Regions from separate parts of the Homo sapiens genome. Here region 1 is linked to region 2. The links are contacts of gene promoters, found by promoter capture Hi-C in human tissues and cell types (Jung and others, 2019). All regions are on one chromosome and are shown on one strand. The core of a region is centred on a gene start or on the middle of the fragment in contact, and the rest is flanking DNA. Distances in the headings are between cores, read along the strand shown.

Region 1 (6,106 bases), core at 1,906-4,405, 61 kb after region 2:
ACAGGGCCAGAGAAGCTTGGCAACCTAGTCAGTATCTCAGCAAGACTCAGGCCAGCGCCCTTTCTTCTCCTATTTGGCACAGCGACTGCCCTGCCTGGGCGCTGCACATGTGCAGTGTGCGAGGATTGGTGCAGGTGTAGGTATATGTGGGGTGGGCAGGGCAAGCTGGGCCTGCACCAGATCACACTTCCTGAGAATGCTTCCCAACTCCCTTCCCACCCTGCAGGAAGCGAGTTGCCCGTGTGTGCAAGCTGCGGCCAGAGGATCTATGATGGCCAGTACCTCCAGGCCCTGAACGCGGACTGGCACGCAGACTGCTTCAGGTAGGGTGGGGTGCCCAGGGCCTGTGTTGCCCTAAACAAGGCCTGCCAGAGAGGACAGGCTGGTCAAGGAATGGGGGAGGCCGGGATATGCCTCCTGGTGCCGTCCCCTATTGTGACTTCGTGGCCTTAATTTACCATTTATGACATGAGGTGTTTTGACTAGAAAATCCCTACAGGCCTTCCTGTTGTCATTTTATTTATCTATTTTTTTTTCTTTTTGAGACGGAGTCTCGCTCTGTCACCCAGGCTGGAGTACAGTGGTGCGATCTTGGCTCATTGCAACCTCTTCCTCCTGGGCTCACGCAGTTCTCCTGTGTCAGCCTCTGGAGTAGCTGGGATTACAGGCGTGCACCACCACGCCCAGCTAATTTTTGTATTTTTAGTAGAGACGGGTTTTGCCATGTTAGCCAGGCTGGTCTGAAACTTCTGACCTCAAGTGATCTTCCCACCTCAGCCTCCCAAAGTGCTGGGATGACAGACATAAACCACCGCTCCTGGCCTCATTTTATTTTCTTTTATGTATTTTTCTTTTTTCGAAATGGTCTTGCTCTGTTGCCCAGGCTGGAGTGCAGTGGTGCCATCTCGGCTCATTGCAACCTCCATCTCCCGGGCTAAAGTGATCCTCCTACTTCAGCCTCCCGAGTAGCTGGGATTATAGGTATACACCACAATGCTCAGCTAATTTTTTAAATTTTGTGTAAAGACAGGGTCTCACTATTGAGACCCAGGCTGGTCTTGAACTTGTGACCTCAAGCAATCCTCCTGCCTTGGCCTCCGAAAGTGCTAGGCTTACAGGCGTGAGCTAACGCCTTGGCCTCTGTTGTCATCCTAGATCTCTGAGATCTAAATCTTAGAGAGGATGGGAGAGACCTCCAATTGAGCCAGTGCCTGCAATTCAGCCCCCTGCTGGCACCCAGACAGGGGGAAGAGTTGGAAGGAATGTCCCTCCTGCCTTCTGGGTGTTCATGCTCTTGCAGGGAGGGAAGACAAACCAGGCCTTAAGGGAAACCAGGCCACCCTCAGTGTCTTCCAGGCTGCTTGCGAACATGCATAACCCAGTCACACCAGCCCCAGTGTCCAGACACACACCCACAGGTAGGAAGAAAGTAGGGTCAGGGTTGTGGCGGAGGATAAAGAGTACATGAGGACCTGAAGGTCACCCAGTAGGACCATCCTGAGAAGCCAGGAGCAGGGGTCTACCTGCCTTGAGCCAGAGCAGGGCCAGAGCAGGGGTCTCAAAGGATGTGAGATTTCCTGGGTAGAAAAGTAGAGTGGAGGTGGGGCGTGGTGGCTCACACCTATAATCCCATCACTTTTTGGGGCTGAGGTGGGCAGATCACTTGAGTTCAGGAGTTCGAGACAAGCCTGGGCAATATGGCAACACCCTGTCTCCACTGAAAATACAAAAAATTAGCCGGGCGTGGTGGCGCATGCCTGTAGTCCCAGCTACTCAAGAGGCTGAGGTGGCAGGGTTACTTGAGCCTGGGAGGTGGAGGCTGCAGTGAGCTATGATCGCACCACTGCACTCTAGCCTGGGCAATAGAGCGAGACCCAGTCTCAATTTTTAAAAAAGAAAGAAAGAAAAACAAATGGTGTGGGAGAGAATTACAGGCATAGTCACCAAACAGCAAGGTTCAGGGGAGAAAACTCCATAAAAGGGTAGAAGGTGAAGCTTCTGGGATGCCCAGCAGGGGTCAAGACATCCACCACTAGGACTTTATTTTAGGCTTCTGCCTTGGTTTATTTTTTGGTTTTTGGTTTTTTTGAGACAGTCTTGTTGTGTCGCCCAGGCTGGGGAGCAGTGGCGCGATCCCTCCTCACTGCAACCTCCGCCTCCCAGGTTCAAGCGATTCTCCTGCTTCAGCCTCCCAAGTAGCTGGGATTACAGGTGTGCACCACCACGCCCGGCTAAGTTTTGTATTTTCAGTAGAGATAGGGTTTTGCCATGTTGGCCAGGCTGGTCTCGAACTCCTGACCTCAAGTGATCTGCCCGCCTCAGCCTCCCAAAATGCTGGAATTACAGGCATGAGCCACTGCACCTGGCCTCGGTTTGTTTTTTTGTTTCTTCTTTTCTTTTTTTTTACACAGGGTCTTGCTGTGTCACCCAGGCTGGCGTGCAGTGGTGAGATCATAGCCCACTGTAGCCTCCAGCTCCAACTGGTTCAAGCGATCCTTCTGACTCAGCCTCCCAAAGTGCTGGGATTACAAGCATAAGCCACCATGCCCAGCCTGTTTTTTCTTTTTTAGGAATAACGTCTAACGTTTTCTAACATTCAGTAAGGGACAACCCCTGTTCTAAGTACTTTGCATAGTTAGATATTAGTGCTGTCTTTGTTTTGCCAGAGAGAAAATTGGGACACAGAGAGGTTAATTCTCTTGATGAAAGTCACACAGCCAGTGAGTGAAATGAACACACTCAGTGTGGCTGAAAGGAGACAGACAGCATGCCCTGGGATTCTGCATCAGGTGCTCAGAAAGAGGCCTTCGGGGGGCAAGAGGGCTCTCAACAGGCAGAGGAAACCATCTGCACAGCGGTGGGATGGTGCGGACTGCTGAGGGAACAGGAACAGTTCCCTTGGAAGGAACAGAATAAGCTGAGGGATCCAACAAGAAACAAAGTTGAGACCGATTCGTGAAGGGCCTTGAATGCCAAGATAAGGAGTTTCAGAAGTCAGGATGGGGGTGGTGGCTCATCCCCGTAATCCCAGCACTTTGGGAGGCCGAGGCAGGCAGATCACTTGACCCCAGGAGCTTGAGACCAGCCTGGCCAACGTGGTGAAACCCCCGTCTCTACTAAATATTCAAAAATTAGCCAGGCATGGTGGCACATGACTGTAATCCAAGCTACTCGGGAGGCTAAGGAAGGAGAATCACTTGAACCTGGGAGGCGGAGGCTGCAGTGAGCTGAGATCACGTCACTGCACTCCAGCCTGGGAGACAGAGCGAGACTCCATCTCAAAAAAAAAAAAAAAAAAAAATAGAAGGGAGTCGGCAGAAAGCCAGGGAGGGGCTGGGGTGACATGCTGTTGAAGAATGCCATCCCAGTGGGCCGGTGGTGGTATCTAGGCAGGGAAGGGACTGTCCCAGTAACTCAAGGGTCTGAGCTCATAGGACCTGACCTGGGACAGTGACTGAGGATGGAGAGAATTTCAGGCAGAAGGGACAGTTTTTGGTGAGTATTTGTCATATTGGCTACCATGCATTGAGCACTCTTCATGCTAATTTGTTAAATCTTCATCATAACTCTATGAGGGACTGTATGTGCCCAGTTTGCATGGGAGAAACAGAGATTCCATGCAATCAAGTGCCTCGCTGAAGGTTGTAACATCTAGAGCTGGGACTAAAACCTTCTCACTCCACATCGCCACAGAGTAGGAAAGGCAGGGGCTGGCGGTGGCACATGCCTATAATCCCAGCCCTTTGGGAGGCGGAGGCAGGTGGATCTCTTGAGCCCAGGAGTTTGAGACCAGTGTGGGCAACATAGTGAAACCTTGTCTCTACAAAAAAATTAGCTGAGCATGGTGGTGGTGCCTGTAGTCCCAGCTACTCAAGGGCGCTGACATGGGAGGGTTGCTTGAGCCTGGGAGGTGGAGGTTGCAGTGAGCTATGATCACACCACTGCAAGCCAGCCTGGGTGACAGAGTGAAATCCCATCTCAAAAAAAAGAAAGAAAGGAAGAAAGAAAAAGACAGGGGCTTCGGGGAGGGCATGGGCACTGGCGAATGGCAGGGTGGAACCTGAAGCCATCTGGTTTTCTAACCTGGGCACTGGGGAGTTGGTGGTTTGTTGACTCTGATGGAATTGGGGGTCATGTTGGGGAGGAGACATGCTCATCTGTGTTGAGCTGGAGGGGACATGGGCTATCCATGGTGGCTGTGTCCTGCCCAGAGCTAGCCATGGGAGCCTGAGTCCAGTTGGAGGTAGGAAAGTCAGAAAAAACGGCCGCCTCGGAGCTGGCCCTGAGATGGTGAGTGGGATTTGTGATAGGGCCAAGACGAATGAAGGGAAGAACTTTGGGGACCCCTGTGTCTGCGGTGAGGGGGGAGATGGAGCCTTGGGTGATGGAGAGAGGGTCAGGAGTAGAGCCACAGAAGCCACAGGAGGGAAGCCGTGTTACAGGATGGGTGTACCTGGCTTTGGAGTGGCCTGTCCCAAATCACTCACCAGGAGAGGGGTGAGTCCCCAGGTCAGGGCAGTAAAGAGGAGGCATGTTTGTGCTGTCCCTGGTGTAGTGAAACTCAAGAAGGAAGCCAGGTGCAGTGGCTCACGCCTGTAATCCCAGCACTTTGGGAGGCCAAGGCAGGCAGATCACCTGAGGTCGGGAGTTTGAGACCAGTCTGGCCAACATGGTGAAACCCCATCTCTACTAAAAATACAAAAATTAGCCGGGCCTGTTGGTGGGCGCCTGTAATCCCAGCTACTCAGGAGGCTGAGGCAGAAGAATCGCTTGAACCCGAGAGGCAGTGATTGCAGTGAGTCAAGATCGCGCCACTGCACTCTAGCCTGGGTGACAGAGCAAGACTCCATCTCGAAAAAAAAAAGTCTCAATATGGGGAAAGATCCACTAGAAGTAAGAGCCATGGCTTCTACCTCGTGGCTTGTGGGTGTGATACTCCCAACAGTCCCCAAAGCTGGTGGTCCTCACCGCGTGACAGTGAGCAGAGCAGCTCAGAGGGGGTCACTGCTCACCTGGGTGCATGGCTGACCACAGCCAGGCTGGCTCTCAGTGGGATGCCCAAGGTGCTAGACTCTGCTTAGTCTCCCTCGGGCCCTGGGCTTGAGGCATTGGGCCCGGCCCAGACCTCATTTCATGCACTGAGACCTTTGTTCCAGGGCCCCTCACCCCTCTGAAGGTGTTCGGGCAGGGGCAATGTGATAAGGCCATGAGGGGTCTGCAGCCTCCAGCCCCACTGGGGAGGTGGCCAGTGATTTCCACTTTCCTGGCCCCTCTGCATGCCCCTCCCAGTGGAACTTCCTAGGGTCCCTGAGTCAGTCACTTGCAAATAATTATGGCGTGCCCACTCTGCATTAGGCCCCTCTCACAACAACCCAGTAAGGGGGTGCTATTTATTTATTAAAGCGATTTTTTTTTTGAGTCTCGCTCTGTCGCCCAGGCTGGAGTGCGGTGGCGCAATCTCGGCTTACTGCAAGCTCTGCCTCCCGGGTTCACACCATTCTCCTGCCTCAGCCTCCCAAGTAGCTGGGACTACAGGCGCCCACCACCACACCCGGCTAATTTTTTTTTGTTTGTTTGTATTTTTAGTACAGACGAGGTTTCGCTGTGTGAGCCAGGATGGTCTCGATCTCCTGACCTCGTGATCCGCCCACCTCAGCCTCCCAAAGTGCTGGGATTACAGGCGTGAGCCACCGTGCCCGGCAATATTAAAGCGATTTTAAGGCCAAGGCTGGTAACTCACGCCTGTAATCCCAGCACTTTGGGAGGCTGAGGCAGGAGGACTGCTTGAGGCCAGGAGTTTGAGATCAACCTAGGCAACATAGTGAGACTCCATCTCTACAAAAAAATTAGCCAGGCGTGGTGGTGCGTACCTGTAGTCCCAGCTACTCAGGAGGCTGAGATGGGAGGATCATTTGAACCCAGGATGTCGAAGCTGCAGTGAGCTGTGATCACGCCACTGCACTCTGGCCTGGGCAACAGAGCGAGACACTGTCTCAAATTTTTAAAAAGCGATTTTACAAATGAGGTGCAGAGTTCAGTCACTTGCCAAAAGTCTCACAGCGCGTGAGGAGTAGAATCAGGACTCGAACCGAGGCAGCCTGGCTTC
Region 2 (6,233 bases), core at 3,108-5,607:
GCCCAGACCCATGGGCATTCGATCTATTTTCGGTTGCAGTCCCTTTACCTCTGACACCTGTGCCTGCGCCAGACCCCTTCCTTTCCTGGCCGGCCATCCGAGGGGTCCCTGGTGGCCTCTGGGAAGAGAGGAACTGCAGAAGTCCCTTTCATTTTCCAGCTGAGGTGCTGGCTCTGGGCCGATGCTGCCGGGCACCCCACAGGAGGTAGCCGCCCTCTCTGGCTCAGTCACCAGCACGAGGGCAGGGCCACTCCTTTGGGGCTGCTTGTCACGGGTGCCCTTTGCCAGCCTCCAAGGACATCCTTCCTTCTCTGTCCCTCTCCCCTGTCCTCAAGCCCCGTCCCATTTTGAACCTCTGCATAGCAGGATTCAGATTCCCTTCCAAGCGCATCAGAACTAAGGCTAGCTCTGGCTGGGCATGGTGGTTCACGCCTGTAATCCCAGCACTTAGGGAAGTCGAGGCGGGAGGATCACCTGAGGTCAGGAGTTCAAGATCAGCCTGGCCAAAACGGAGAAACCCCGTCTCTACTAAAAATACAAAAATTAGCCAGGCGTGGTGGCGCGTGCCTGTAATCCCAGCTACTCAGGAGGCTGAGGCAGGAGAATTGCTTGAACCCGGGAGGCGGAGGTTGCAGTGAGCCAAGATCGTGCCACTGCACTCCAGCCTGGGTGACAGAGAAAGACTCCCTCTCAAAAAAGAAAACAAACCACCAAAAAAGAACTAAGGCTAGCTCATCTCACCAGTCCTTTATGATCTAAACCAGTGCTGTCCCCGGTGGCAGCTGCTGGCCACATGTGGCTAATGGAGCACTTGAAATGTGACAAGTCCAGATTGAGACGTACCCTCGATGCAAAATACACACCAGTTTTAAGACCTGGTACAAAAAAGAATGCAAGATATCTCAATAACTTTTATTTTGATTGGATGTTGAAAGGATTATACTTTAGATATGTTGTGTTAAATATATTACTAAGAATAGTTTTACTTATGTTTTCTTTTATTTCATATGGCTACTAGTAAATTTAAGATCATAGGAGGGGCTGGATGCGGTAGCTCACACCTGTAATCCCAGCATTTTGGGAGGCCGAGGCGGGCGGATCACCTGAGCTCAGGAGTTTGAGACCAGCCTGGCCAACATGGTGAAATCCGGTCTTTACTAAAAATACAAAAATTAGCTGGCAGTGGTGGCGGATGCCTGTAATCCCAGCTACTCGGGGGCTGAGGCAGGAGAATTGCTTGAACCTGGGAGGCAGAAATTTTAGTGAGCGGAGATCACGCCACTGCACTCCAGCCTGGGTGACAGAACGAGACTCCGTCTCAAAAAAAAAATCTGAACTTTGTCTGGATAGCGACGGAGGGTGTCTGAGCAAAGCACGATGTTCTCAGAGCCATCCAGAGACTGGGAACTCTGTCCTACCAAAATGGGTGCACCCAGAGGAGCTGGAAGATAGAGATGCCCTGTGGGTGACTCATCTGGTTGCCCCTTGGTGGCACTGAGCCAGGCAACAAGCGGGAAAGGCTTGTCAATGATAACGGCAAGACCAACGATCACCAGGCAGCCAGGTGCACCCGGTAGCCCTCTGTGGGCAATTCTGCATGTATGACCTTATTTAGTCATACAGCTAGGCAAGGAGGTGACACTAAGCATTTGAGTACTGATGGGGTCTTGAATGAACAAGTAAATGAATGAATGAATGGATGGTGGCCGATGACTGTCATCTCTAGTTCTTACATTATGTATCTTATGCATCAGACTACACGGCATGGATATTCAGTGCAATGGATTTGATTGTGAATTGAGGCCCCCTTTTGCAATCTTGTTGCATGTTATGTTCGTGGAGCTCCTGCAATGAGCAGAGGCTGCTAAGCAGAAGCAGCGCACAGGCTGGGGGCAGGACACAGGGCCCCCGGCCTCAGGGGAGAGGTCTGTTCCAGCCACCTCAAGTCTATTCCTGTGAGTGCCCCTCCACACCCCTCCTGGATCCCCCCACTGCAAACTCTCTCCCCCTGGCTCCGGACTCTCTCCCCGTCCTGGAATTAATAAAGACTCTGTGCAGACTGCGGTTTGCAAGTCTGAAAGCTGGTTCCTGCCCGTGTCACTGCCTCGAGAAGAGAGGGGTCCAGCTCCCCACAGTAGCCCCTGCCTTCCTCCTTCCCAGGCAGGCGGAGGCACGCAGATATACCATTGACTTCCCCTCCCCTGCAGCAGGCACATCCTGGGCATCGAGCTTCAGACCCTGCCCCTGAGCAGCCCCTAACCCCACCAACAAAGGGTGGCTTGGGGGGGCTTTCACCCCAGCATAATCTCCATCAGCTACCCTCAAAGCACCCCCAAATAAACACACACCGTAAGTAAGAGCTGTACACTGGCTGTGTGCGTACATCTTCAAGACAATTCTCCCAGCATGCCCCTACCTTCCAAAATTCCAGAGCTGCTCCCTCCAAAGACCCAGGGAAAAGGAAGGGTTTGTCCAGGGTCCTGGGGTGGCCCCGTATAGACCAAAGCCTGATAGCTGTCCTAGAAGCAGAGTACTTGCAGAGCGAGTGACGGCAACTGTGGTATTGACACCAGTCCTAGCACCAGCTGAACACAGAGCATTTTTGATCTAGCAGAAATACAAGACCACGTTGTATTTGTCTTTGCAATAATCTCTTAGCTAGGAATACTGATCACCTGTAGACAGATAAGGAAACTGATGCTCTGTGGAGAGGTTTTCCTACCAGAAAGGCTAGAGCCAGAAATTTACTTCTAGGTCCACCAATACCTGCCTTTGACCAATGCCTGCATTTGACCTTTCCACGCTGAGCCACCCCTGCTGGCACTCCAGACTGCCACAGTGCTCCTGCCTCCACAAGGGGTCTTTAACTCATCCCTCGGAGCCATCGTGGTGCAGGGAAAAGCCCACAGGGCGTGTGGCTTCCATGCTGTTCCCTGACTGGCTGTGACCTAGGACAAGGAACAAGTTTCCCTCTCCTATTCTCTAGGTCTCACATTTCTTCTCCTCTAGCAGTAGTGGGAAGTGAGGGGTGGGGGACACGACCCTCCCCTGTTCCATCCCACACTCCAACCCCCAAAATCCCCCAGGGTCCCCGTCCAGCTCAGTCCTGGGGGCAGAAATGCAGAGTTCTCCAGGAACGTGGTCCCAGCTGTTTCAGTGCAGGCCGCCCCCTCCTGGCCACCAGCGGAATGTCAGCCTTCCCAGAGGGGCCGGGAGAACAGCAGTCGAGAAGCTCCCAGACTGGTGTGGGCGCTAGCTGTGCTCAGCGTGGGGATGGGAGGTGACCCAGTGATAATGGGAAGCTGGGCTGCCTGTCAGTCTGCGGGGGGCTCCCACCTCCCTGTTCCCCCACAGGGCACCTGGGGATCCAGCCTGATTTTTACCAGACCCTGCGGCCTGCATGGGGCTGGGTATAGGGCTGTGACCTTGACCCATGCAGAATAGAACCCTGTGTGTCGGGATCCTCCATGTGCTCCAGATGCCCCTGGGGACAGCACCAACATGGCCTTAACTCCCAAGCCATTCCCCTGCCTCTAACCCCCTGGCATCTGCAGGCATCCACCCCAGACCCACCCAACACCTCCTCCCCAGCTTCAGGCGCTAGGCAGAGACCTTGGCCCCTGCAGAATGCAGCCCTGTCCAGGGTCCCCTACCTTCCCCCCAGATCCCTCCCAGAGCAATACCAACCCGGGCCTACCTTCCAGGCCATTCAACCTGCAGCCCCCCGGCCTCTGTAGACATCGCACCCCCCAAACCCCCAGACCTGCCCAATGCCTCCCCTCCCCAGCTTTGGGCAGAACCTGTCTCTAGCCAGACCTGGGGGTGTTGGGGAGTCTGGAGGGCCGGGGTGGGGGCTGAGGCGCGGGACAGCTGGCCCGTATCCTCACACTGGGCCCGGGGCCCAGCCGGAGGGGCGGGGGCCTGGCCACTCGGGCCTTGGCTGGGGCTGGGATTTTTGGCCTGGCCGCCAGGCCCTCCCTTCTGCTTCCTCTCCCGAGGGCTGTCCTGGCAGAGGCCCCCCTCGCTCTTTCTGGCGGGAACAGGGCCAGCAGCGAAAGAACAGTCGCAGAGGGAAAGCGGGAAAGAGATGGGGGAAAGTGTGTGTGTGTGAGTGTGTGCTTGTGTGCATGTGTGTGCGTGTGTGTGTCAAGGAAAAAAGCTCGCAGTCCAGCAGCCCGGGCCTGGGAGGCTTGTGAGCCGGGCCTTTCGTAATTGTCCCCTCCCCGCGGCCCCCTCCCCCAGGCCTCCCCCCTCTCCCGCCCTCCCGCCCGCCCTCTCTCCCTCCCTCTTTCCCTCACAGCCGACGAGGCAACAATTAGGCTTTGGGGATAAAACGAGGTGCGGAGAGCGGGCTGGGGCATTTCTCCCCGAGATGGCGGGTCTGACGGCGGCGGCCCCGCGGCCCGGAGTCCTCCTGCTCCTGCTGTCCATCCTCCACCCCTCTCGGCCTGGAGGTAAGGACCCCTCGCCCCTGTCCCCAGCGCTGCCCACAGCTGCGGGCCCTTTGGGCCAGGTGACTAGACGCTCAAGGGGGAGACCTTCGTCCCTGGGAACTGCAAGGGGTCCCAGGTGGGAGCCCCTCAGCCACTGGGTCCTCGGAACTGCCCCTCCCAGGAGCCAGCCCCGTGCCCAGGAGGAACCTGTCAAAGAGACACCCTCGACTCAGAATAGTCCCAGCCCAGCATCCAGGCTTTGCTGCCCTGCGAGGGCTGAGGGGGCCCCTGCTCAGGTGCCCGGGTGCCCGCCCTGTAGGGGGATCAGAGCATCCTGGGGGAGGGCCCAGCGGGAACCCCTGGGTCTGGAGACACCACAGTCTGCACACCTGTGGACACAGCTGGGGTGCACACCAGCCCTGGGGACAGGGAACCTGGGCTTGATACCAGCTCAACCGCAGTGAGCTGTGTGACCTCAGCAGGTTCCTTGACCCCTGGGAAGCCGGGATCCCCCCGTCAGGAAGGTCAGGGCTCCGCTGAGGATGGGTTTGCAGGTTGGGAAGCTGCTGCTGTGTTCTCCCTGCTGAGGCAGGCAGGGACTCCTGGTATGCATTTGTGTGTGTGTGTGTGTGTGCATGCACACAGGAATGAGCGTGCTGTGTGCTCGTGTGTGTATGTGTGCATGCACAGGTGTGCATGTGTTCAGATGCCCGGCTGTGTCACTGAACAGGGAAAGGGATTTCTGGAGGGGTACATATGTCTGCTCACAGGTTCATCCTTAGGCAGGTGTATGCGTATGTTTGGAGGAGGTATATGAAGCTGCTCCTTAGTGTGTGCAAAAGTCTGCCACCTGACAGACATGTAGACATGTACACATGTAGACATGGGCGATCTGGCATCCAGGTGTGACACTGGTGTGGACTGTCACTGTGTGTGTTATGGAGTGTGTACATCTGTGTGTGTGAATGTGTGTGCGATGTGGCACGCAAGCATGGAAAGGCGGGCTGGAGAAGGTGTCTGTCTCCTGGCAGAGGCAGTGTGGCTGAGACAGAGGCTGGAGTGGATCCTGGGGCACTGCTGGGCCATCTGCTATGTGCCCCAACCCAGGCACAGTTGGTTATGGGGTTTGAGGGTGTGCCCTGTGGGGCTGCTATGCCGCGGCCAACGGGGGAGGACAGAAGAGGCTCCCGGGCATGGGAAAAAGGAGGGCATTTGGTAGGGGGGTCTGGGTGGAGTCTGGTTTCCTCGGGAGTCCTCCTTGCCATGAGAACCAAACGCTGAGTGGGGGGCGGGAGGGCCACGGGGTGGAGTCAAGGGCCTGGGCAGGAGCTGCAGCTGTTTCCGTGAGATTGAACAGCTTCCTGTGCAGGGTCCGCTGCTGGACCTGGATGAGGCCAAGGGACATGGGTACCCACAGGCGGGCCCCAGCAGGGGCAACGAGCCAGGGCCTGAAAGCAGCAGCCCCGGGTCCGTCTCAGCCTCCTCCCCAGGTGTAGCCCCCAAACACCCAGCCACCCTTCTTCCCAGATGGGGCCACCACCTATAGGGTGGCAGTTCATCATCAAGGAACCTTGAGAATTAGAAATTATTATCATCACTTGACAAACAAGGAAGCTGAGGCTCCGGCAGGCTAAGGCAGTCCCCGGGGGTTAGTATCAGCCAGCTCTCTGCCCCAGGTCAAGGGGCAAGGGGGTTAGGAGTGAGCTAGCAGGCAACATTTGGGGAGGGGAAGGCTTGGGGCTGAGTCCTTAAAGCAGGCATGCCCTAGGCAGAATCAGCTCTCTCCTTGTGTCCTCAGTG

What was found. The method cuts DNA at HindIII sites, captures the fragments that hold promoters and counts their contacts. A contact is called where the count stands out against the background at its distance.
Region 1: a fragment that was not itself captured here is called in contact with the fragment with the promoter of ELN in region 2 in 1 of the 25 tissues and cell types used here (IMR-90 fibroblasts).

What each region holds. Positions count from the first base shown.
Region 1 is chr7:74,085,522-74,091,627 of GRCh38, forward strand. LIMK1 (LIM domain kinase 1) reads left to right here. Exons shown (of 16, transcript NM_002314.4): 2 at 227-323. Among named protein-coding and RNA genes, the nearest start is that of LIMK1, 4.8 kb to the left of the region's middle. RefSeq lists enhancers at 1-207, 208-805, 4,613-5,113, 5,114-5,614. The HindIII fragment of the contact is 4,301 bases long and covers 1,006-5,306 here.
Region 2 is chr7:74,023,816-74,030,048 of GRCh38, forward strand. It overlaps ELN (elastin), which reads left to right and starts at 4,358. Exons shown (of 33, transcript NM_000501.4): 1 at 4,358-4,454. The coding sequence starts at 4,373. RefSeq lists enhancers at 2,769-3,741, 4,714-5,685. The HindIII fragment of the contact is 22,090 bases long and covers 1-6,233 here.